Linked DNA regions of Homo sapiens: region 1 is linked to region 2. Evidence: promoter capture Hi-C in human tissues and cell types (Jung and others, 2019). All regions are on one chromosome and are shown on one strand. Each heading gives the region's core, a stretch centred on a gene start or on the middle of the fragment in contact. The rest is flanking DNA. Distances are from core to core; before and after follow the strand shown.

Region 1 (4,945 bases), core at 2,240-4,739, 110 kb before region 2:
GAAGCAAAGCCTTTTGCAAGAAAACACAGCCTTGCCTCTTGTCACCCGTGTGCAAGTATTTGAAACATTGCCTCCCTGTTTTTGTTGCTTGAAAACATCTTCACCTGCATGCTGACATTTGGCTCCAGATGGGGGAAGATTATGGCAAATGCAATGTCCACAGGGCCGGACTGGTGGGACTCATTGCTCTATAAGGGACATGGAACACATTTCATGACTTTGTGCTCAAACCTTGTCCTGTCTTTCTGTTTTGTGACATTGTCAGCCAATGTCAGTTTAATAAAATTCTAGAGTTTTATTTTAAAACTGGTCAAGCCAGGCCATGCCTGTCATCCCAGCAATTTGGGAGGCTGAGGCAGGAGGATCACTGGACCCCAGGAATTCAAGACTAGCCCTAGCTACATGGTGAGACTGTCTCTACAAATACATATATATTTTTTAATTAGCTGGGTGTGGTGGTTGTGAGCTTATAGTTCTAGCTACTGGAGAGGCTGCGGTGGGAGGATTGCTAGAGCCTGGGAGGTTGAGACTGCAGTGAGCCACACTGCACTGCAGCCTGGGCAACAGAATAAGACCCTGTCTCCAAAAAGCAAATAAACAAAAACTCTGGTCAACAGGTTTAATTCATTAATTCAGTGAAGATTCAAGTGCCTGCTATGTGATTGTAGTCAGTGGTAAGCCGCAGCAGTTTCCTGCCACTCGTAATATGGCAATTAAAAATTTTAAATTTGTGGCTGCTTGGGGTCTGGGAGGTGACCTGCTCCTCAGCAAATTTTGACTGATAAATTAATGCCTGGGTCTTCAGCCTGGTTCTTTGCTGGCCAGTGTGACAACAGTCTGTCACATCTCTGGGGGCACATTATAATTAACAGATGTAATCTTTCTCCGGTTCAGGGTCATCTGTGAATCAGGGGTACTGCCCCAGTAGAACTAGGAACATCCAGCAAAAGACTGTTTTCAAAATATACAATTAAGTGAAAAAAGCATGAAGTAGACCGGTGTTGGTAGTGTGCTACCATTGTTTAGAAAAGAGGGAAGATAGAGACAATTCACATTTGTTTGCTTTCGTATGCATAAGATATCTCTAGAAGGGCACATTAAAAGCTAAGTCTCAAGCCTGTAATCCCAGCCCTTTGGGAGGCCAAGGCAGGCGGATCACCTGAGGTCGGGAGTTCGAGACCAGCCTGACCAACATGGAGGAACCCCCGTCTCTACTAAAAATGCAAAATTAGCTGGGCGTGGTGGTACATGCCTGTAATCCCAGCTACTCAGGAGGCTGAGGCAGGAGAATCGCCTGAACCCAGGAGGCGGAGGTTGCGGTGAGCCAAGATCACACTATTGCACTCCAGCCTGCGCAACAAAGAGAGAAACTCCGTCTAAAAAAAAAAAAAAAAAAAAAAAAAAAAAAAAAAAACTGAAGTCATTGGTTACCTGTGGGGAGGGGGCTGGGTAGCTGGAGATTTCACTAAATACCTTTTGAATATTGAGCTATGTGGTTATATAGCCCTATTCAAACCATAAAGAAAAATATAACAGTGTATGATCCTAATTTTTAAAAACCATACATGTTAAAGAAGCCTGGAAGAATGTCTTCCTACACATTACAGTGGTTTTCTTTGTGGTGGGGTGATGTGCAGAGTTAGACATCCGTGTGTGGGGCCCTCGTGAGCCGGCCCAGAGATGACTAGGTGTGCTCTGATCTCCTTGTCCTCTGGCAGCACCTTGGGTGTCACACTAGACCTGGACTTTCCTCTTTGTATGTGTTGTACATGTGGGAGGGGGCATCTACATTGAAACTTGCTGGTTTCCCCAGGATGGCTACTTTCCCACGCTTCTCCAACTACTTCAGGCAACACTGTCTTGATTTGGGTGCAAAAGAGAAAAAGAATGCTTTTAAAAAACAGCAAGAGTATTTTGAGGAAATGACAAAGGACAATAGAAATGCAGTGTCAGAAACATTTGCCCTTCAAGTTTAATTTTGCTTTTTTGTGAAAACCAGCCTGAAGGGGGAGGTGAGCTGGGAGGGAATCGAGCCAGCACTGTGGCAGAGAGTGAGCAGGATAACTGTGAAGGGGACATTCAGTTGTCTGCCTCTATAAAGGGGATGCTACATCTCCCAAGTGGCTTAAAGATTAAAAATCATGTATGTGCATCTCATGCCCCAAGCAGCTATGAGAACTTTAACATGGCAATGGGCCTTTGCATGAGTGATGGAAATGGCCAGGAGCTTCCCTCCCTTTGGTTTGTTGAAGAACAGCACGTGGGTCCAGGCCCTAAGGGTCCTCCCTAGTGTGAAAGGACCTAGGTGACAAGAAAATACTGTTAAAATTCTCCTCTTCATTATTTTGGACCCTTTGTAAAGGAAAAGCAGACATGAGTCCAACATGCGGTGATGGCTGCTTCGTGCGTAGACTGAGAAACGGTGCCGCAGTTCCTTGGGGATGGTTCTGAGCCAGAGCTGCACTTTGATCAGCAAAAGCGTGACATCCTAAAGTTTTTTAGTCACTAGTAGCTGACTGAGTTTAAGATGAAACCAGCAGGGGACTATGTTTTCAGTGGTAAGAAGAATGCCTACACAGTTGGAGCACTGGGCCAGAGTCAGGAAATGAGGGTCTTAGTTCCAGCCTGGAATCAAGTTTCTCTGTAGCTTTTGGGCAAGTCTTTCACCCTCTCTGAGCCTTCAGTGCAGGGGCTTGGACTGTCACTTTCTTTTTTTTTTGAAACGGAGTCTCACTCTGTCGACCAGGCTGGAGAGCAGTGGCGCGATCTCGGCTCACTGCAACCTCCGCCTCCCAGGTTCACGCCATTCTCCTGCCTCAGCCTCCCAAGTAGCTGGGACTACAGGCGCCCGCCATCACGCCCGGCTAATTTTTTGTATTTTTAGTAGAGATGGGGTTTCACCGTGTTAGCCAGGTTGGTCTTGAACTGCTGACCTCGTGATCCGCCCGCCTCGGCCTCTCAAAGTGCTGGGATTACAGGCGTGAGCCACCGCACCCGGCCTTGGACGGTCACTTTCAATTGGGAAGCTTATGATTTAATTCAGGGCATGAAGACAGATATCCAGCTTTGAAGCACACACCAAACATGAGCCCTGTTTGTGCCGACAGTGAGAGAACCTCACATGATGAGGAGGTTTGTCCAGAACATACTGAATCAGGGCCCAGGCAGTCAGGCAGGCCAAAAGGATTTTGGATTTTTGTTTTAGACAGAAAAAGACTTTCATACCTTCTAGAGTCATTCATGCTCTGATTTGTTTAAACGTATGGTAAATTTAGATAGACCTCTTAGGTATCAAGAAAATTTTATGTTTGTAATATCTTTTAACCTGGAAGGTAAGACATAATCGTGTTAATGGTGATGAGTTATCCTTCAGTATAGAAGTTGAATAATGAAAATAGGTTTATATTGCCAGAGCCCTGTGACTCCAGAAATATCATTCATATACAGTTTTGGTTTCTGAATTAGAGAAGGAGGACTGAGGACTTTTGTAGTTTGGGGTCAGGGTGGAGACAGGCATGTGAGGGAAGGCAAGTTCTACCCTGTTCGGAGTGCCTGCCCTCTGTCCTCCTTACCCAGCCAACACTGTTGGGTCCATTTTAACTGGAAAAGCCAGCCCTGCCAGCTGGGTTGGACCAAACCTCATATCCTGTGCCTCCTCTGTAAGGCCCAGCAGTGATGAGGCATGAGCCTTCCCTGAGTTCTTAACTCTTCATCTTCTAAATGGGTTGTGTGCTTACAGCAGATGCTGGCCTCCCTTGGTCCCTTGGAACATCCTGTTTGCCTGGAGCAAAAGCAGAGTCTCCACTGAGTGCCTGCTGGTGCCGTCCTCGGGGTTGTCATGTTTCTGAACATGGCTTCTAGTTAGCCTTCAATTTCTGGGTCACATGGTAACTCAACATTTTGAAGAACTCCCAGACTGTTTACAAAATCATTTGCACCGTTTTACATTCCTAACAAAAATGTGTGAGGGTTAAGATTCCCACACGTTCTTATCAGCATGTTATCTTTTTTATTACAGCCAACCTGGTGAGTCCGAGGTAGTGACTCCTATGCTTTTGATTTTTTGGTCATCTGTGTATCTTTTTTGGGGAATGTCTATTAAAGTTATTTGACCATTTTTAATGGGGTTGTCTTTTATTATAGAGTTTTAAGAGTTTTCTTTTAATATGCCTTATCAGAGGCACAAGTCCCTTATCAGAGATCTGATTTGCAAATATTTTCTGTCATTCTATAGATTACCTTTTCACTTTCTTCATGATGTTCCTTGAAGCACAAAGGTTTTTAAGTTTAATGAAGTCCAGTTTATCTTTTTTTTCTTTTGTGGTTTCTGCTTTTGGCATCATATTTAAGAAATTATTGCCTAACTCCAGTAATGATAATTTAATTCTATGTATTTGTCTAATAGTTTTATAATTTTAGCTCACATTTAGTCTGTAATCCAATTTGAGTTACTTTTTATATATGGCATGAGGTAGAGGTCCAGCTTTATTGTTTTGCATGTGGATATGCAGTTGTCCCAGCACCATTTGTTGAAAAGACTGTTTTTTCCTCATTGAATTGTCTTAACATTCTTGTCAAAAATAAATTGATTACCAGCTGCAGTAGCCCATGCCTGTAATCCCAGCACTTTGGGAGGCTGAGGCAGGTGGATTGCTTGAGTCCAGGAGCTCAAGACCAGCCTGGGCAATATGGTGAAACACTGTCTCTACAAAAAAAATACAAAAATTAGCCAGATGTGGTGGCGTGCACCTGTAGTCCCAGCTACTTGGGAGGCTAAGGTGAGAGGATTGCTTGAGCCCAGGAGATGGACGTTTTAGTGAGCCAAGATCATGCCACTGCACTCTAGCCTAGGTGACAGAGCAAGACCCTGTCTTAAAAAATGAATAAATAAATAAATTGATGACAAATGTAAGGTTTTTTTCTGTACTCTCAATTCGGTTCCCCT
Region 2 (4,985 bases), core at 1,681-4,180:
AAATAGTTCAATGTTTTCATATTTATAGATCCTCTATAGATACTGTTCTCCATAGAATCTTAGAGCTCAGTAAAATCTGTATTTTCACCATTAGAAAACAGCAGGCTAACCGGGGCGGCCAACTATTTCCACATCATGCACCAACCTATCAATTTCAATTCAAAATAAATCTCAATTCCTAATGTTTAGGGTAGGCATGGAACTACCATAAAATTCCACTGATATGCACAAGAAAATATTATTTCCCAAAAGGGTACATAAAGGACTTCTCTGGGGATTTTTTAGTATAATGATCTCGTAAGGATATTCTATTATAGAAAAAAAAATACATTCTAAAAGAAAATGTTGGCCGGGTGCAACGGCTCACACCTGTAATCCCAGCACTTTGGAAGGCTAAGGCGGGCAGATCACCTGAGGTCAGGAGTTGGAGACCAGCCTGACCAATATGGTGAAACCCTGTCTCTACTAAAAATTACCAAAAAATTGGCTGGGTCCTACTCGGGACGCTGAGGCAGGAGAATCGCTTGAACCCGGGAGACAGAGGTTGCAGTGAGCCGAGATCACACCACTGCACTCCAGCCTGGGCGACAGGGCAAAACTCCGTCTCAAAAAAAAAAAAAAAAAATGTCATTCAGGTAATACAGTAATAAACAATACTTTTTAAGCCACAGAACTTTTTTTTAGTTCCTGTGAAATCGCACAAAACGATGGTCACCAAAAAGGATTCTGGAGTTGTGTGCCCGGGTTTACATCAGCTCCACCATTTATGAGCTGTGTAATCTTCAGGAAATCACTTACTCTCTCCAGGCCTCAGCTGGCTCTTCTGTAAAACAGGGCGAGTATGACCTAATTCACAGAGTAGTTATGAGGATAAATGAGTTAATACATGCAAAACAGCACATAAGCACTGAGTTTGCTATTAATTAACTCCAAAAAACTAAATGAAATGTCCCAACTATTGGAATACAGGACTTTTTAAAAAGCAACTTTAAAAACACAGAATACTTGGATCATATATTCAGCAGATCTGGGTTCAAATCACTGGGAGATACCGGTTTCCACCTATGTAACACATTGCCCTAACAGGTCTAGGATAGCCAGAGGATGAAGGGCAGGGCAGAAACCAAGTTTGCAATATGCTATTGGTGAACTTATGAGGGCAATCATAAATTAACCAACAGCATATTGCAAACTTGGGTTCAAATTAAAAACGTGTCTCCCAAATCCCAGAATCTCTTCAGCTAAAAATCTTAGCATAGCTGTCATCTTCCCCCATAAACAGTGATCAACTCCTTTCAGACATGTCCTAACCCTCACTGTTCCTCCCCTCAACTAGAGGGCCGGTAGGACAACCTCTTGTCTCATCTTCACTCTTGTACTTCCTTTCTTAACACACATCTGTCACTTCATGTTTAAGGACGACGGGCTCAATGCTGTCTTCGCAGTGAAGTCCTAACTCCAACCGAAATTTAACCGAAATATTAATACACACTCATACATGGCCAACTCTCCAAGAACATCTTTAAATAAGTTACACATACATTACCGACTTCCAAATACAGCTGAACATGTACTTTACACAACTCTTTTTACATGTGGTCCTCTCTCCCACTAATGCTCCTCACCCCCAAAAATGGTACCCAGACTCCAAACCCCCTCTTTTGATAAAGGCTCTGCGTGGCAGATGCCCACAGTACTCTACAAACTGCTGCCCCACTTGCCAATCTGCATTGTCAGTTACCTGCTTACCAGTTTCTCCTCCCCCACCCCACTCCTCCACAGCCAGTATATTCCTCAAGATCCCAAGAGGCAGTGATTACCCGTGCAAATAGAGTAAGTTTTAAGCACGCAGGCAAGTCTTCTGTTCAAATAAACTACTTAAAATATCTAATTATTTCTCATTCTGCATCTGTACAGTATTTAAAAGGGCAGTTAAAATTAACATTCCAAAGTCAACTGTAGTAGAAATTTTGTAAACGGAATCTATTTCAATGCAACCAGCAACGGCAGATGAAAAGTAATGTTAAAGTCAACATCTGTATATCAATTATTGATATTCGCATCAAAAGCTCAACGATGAAGAAACAGGGCCCCGTTATCAGCTGTTCTTCAAACCTTTCTAGGGAAAAAAAAACCTGGGCAGATTTAGGTGTCACCGTCAGCTCCTGACCTACATCTGCCGTCACTCAAGGCTCCTCCAGAGAGAAGCTTCCAGGAGAACCCGGTCTCGGGGATGCGGCGGGCGGGCCAGCGGGCGGGGCGTTTCTGGAGTCCTTACAGGGGTCGCCACAGCTCCTTGCCCCCTCTCTTCTTCTCCATCCCCGTTCCCTCTCCCTCTACTCCTCGCTCCCTTCACCAGCCCCCCTCTCTCCCTCGGTCCCCGTCCTCGTCTTTCCCCTATTCCTACTCTCCCCTCAGGTCCCCATCCCCTTCTCCGCCCTCCCGGGGCGGCCCCCGCTCCCACGTGACCGGCGGCGGGCGGGGCGGGCCGCGGGCGCGTCGGGGGTCGACGGGCGCCGTTCGGGCCGCGAACCCGCGCCCTGAGAACGTCCCGGGATTCCCGAGGCGGCCACGGGCGGCGCGAGGGCAGGCGGCGGGCGTGGGTGTGGGCTGGGTACCGGCGGGGGCGGGGCTCGGAGGGGACCAGACTGGGGCGGGGGCCAGGACCGGGGCAGGGGGCGTCGCCGCGCGGGCCCGCGCCGGGCCGGGCCGTACCTACCGCTTGGCGCCCGAGGAGCACCGCGTCTCCGCTGCTGCCTCTCGCAGGGCTGCCGCGTCTTCCGCCGAGCGCAGCCGCGTCCCGTGGGGCCGCCTGCGCCCGCCCGCGCCTCCGCCCCGCGCGGCGGGACCCCCGCCTCAGCGCGCGCCCACCCCCAGCGCGACTGGTCCCCTCCTCCCGCGCAGCCAGAAAGAGAAAATGGCGCTCGATTGGCCTCAGGAAGTGACGTTGGCCCTCATTTGCATGTAGGCGCAGCCAGCCAATGAGAGCAGAGTGTGCTTGGGGGCCCCTGGCACTTCCCACAGGCCCCCCGGGGCCCCTGGCTAAAGATGGACTGGAGGCTCTGGGGTGGCAGTGGGGGGCCCCTGTTGGACCCCCTGACTCCCTTCTGTCCCAGGGAACTGCCCTGCCAGCTCCTTTCCACATCTGTGCAAACTCTCGTGAGAGTTTGAGTGGGCAATGACGTCACTAAAGGGGTGGGGAGAGTGTGTCATCAACCATGTGACTAATCACGTGGACTCACCACAGCTTTGACTTCATTTGCATGGAATGGGGTGGAGCTAGTGGCAGCTCCAGGAGTGGTGACCCCGCCCACATCTCAGAGCCAATGGGAGCCCAACTGTGATAATGCTGCCTTGCCATTGGAAGACAAAACTTTGGCTCCCAGAACTGGGACAAGTGTGCCATGATTGGCATATCCTGGTGAACCGACTAGCTGGGGTCTCCTGACTTCATCATTCCTGTGGGAAAGTGATCACACCTTCTCTTGAGAATTCTGATTTTTAGATCTACTACAAGTTGTGTGGGGAGAGGGTTAATTGCATACATTTGTATAAACTCTTAACCTAAAAGTTCATTTTTGCACAGGTGTTTATCAATTGTGTAGCAATAATAATTTATTCCACAAAATTAGTGGAAACATGGCGTAGGGCTTTCAAAATGGCTCTAGGTCTTCGTTCCGTGGAGTCCCCAGGCCTCTGGCGGACGCCCTCGTGCCCCAGAGCACGTGGGAGTAACCACGAGGGCAGCGCAGGCGCCTCCCCCAGTGCCCCTAACCTTAACCCTAATTCTGACCCTGCACCTGAACCTCACCTAGCACTAACCCTGACTCTGACCCTAACTCCCCTCCAGTGTTCCTTCCCCTGACCCTAACTCAGCCGCGCCCTCAGTGGCTGTTCCAGGCAGTTCCTTCTTGGCGAAGCCGTCTGCAGGACACGTGCCCCTTTCAGCACAAGGCCACGTCTCCTTCCAGAGCGCCGAGCCCCTGCAACCCGCCGCCAGCCTCCAGCCCTGAGGCCCACTCCAGCCACCGCGGGGCAGAGGCCGTGCCCAGGCTGGGCCTTCCGCCCACCGCCCTCTCCAGAGCCTCCTTGTCACCATCCGCTCGTCCATAATTTCAGCTTTTCCCTCTCAATGGGAGCCTTCTGCTCAGTTTAGCCCAGTGACTAAACACATAATAGGCACTAAATTAATGTCCATATTCGTTTTAAAACTGTGTTAAATGGTGGGCCGATATGACCTGACCAAAATTTGCTTTTTTCCTACATGAATACAAGTCATAATTGAAGTAGAGTTTGCCCTTTATGTTTGCTGACAAGTTAAGATTTTACTTTGAGTTACAGTGGTAAATGGGTGTGATGTCCCTATATATCTTCCTTGCAAAATTATGGGTGGGATGAAAAGTGTAGTTAAAGCCTGCAGTCTCCCATTGATCCTCTAGTGACCTCTCATTTTATCACATTTCTCAAAACAGCAGTCCCTGTGTCTGTCTCCTCAGCCCCCTGCACGCCTCTCGCCCCCACCCTCACCACTCTGCAGAAACGCCTTGGTCACCAGCGCCCTCCTAATTGCTGAGCCCAAAACAGATTTTAGGCCTCGTCTTTCTGTATCTATCTTCCATTTGTTACTACAGACCAATCCCCCTTTCCTACAGACCTCCCGCAACAAAGCCGCCCCACCACCACTACTCCTCAAACGGGCTCTTTAATCTCCAAACTCGGGAACTGTTTCCTAATCTACAGACCTCCCCCCACAAAGCCGCCCCCCCCCACACCCACTACTCCCCAGACGGGCTCTTTCATCTCCATATTCACGAACTGTTTCCTCATCTTCGCCTGCATCTCTTCCCGGCCCATCCTTGAACGCGGTGTTCTCTGGGATCCTGCTGACTTTTTCCTTCACGGTGCAGCACATATGCGCCACTCGCTTCCTGTGTGCCAGGCACCGTGCTGGGTATTGGAACTCCCACGCCTTTCATTTTTTTCTG

What was found. Contacts are between HindIII fragments. The study calls those that stand out against the background at their distance.
Region 1: a contact is called between a fragment that was not itself captured here and the fragment with the promoter of ADNP2 in region 2, in 2 of the 25 tissues and cell types used here (hippocampus and mesenchymal stem cells).

Annotation. Positions count from the first base shown.
Region 1 is chr18:80,222,621-80,227,565 of GRCh38, reverse strand. All of the region lies in intron 1 of PARD6G (par-6 family cell polarity regulator gamma), which reads left to right. Among named protein-coding and RNA genes, the nearest start is that of PARD6G, 22 kb to the left of the region's middle. The HindIII fragment of the contact is 7,222 bases long and covers 1-4,945 here.
Region 2 is chr18:80,107,207-80,112,191 of GRCh38, reverse strand. It overlaps ADNP2 (ADNP homeobox 2), which reads right to left and starts at 2,930. Exons shown (of 4, transcript NM_014913.4): 1 at 2,720-2,930. RefSeq lists silencers at 2,409-2,508, 2,709-2,868 and enhancers at 2,678-3,179, 4,006-4,507. The HindIII fragment of the contact is 8,526 bases long and covers 631-4,985 here.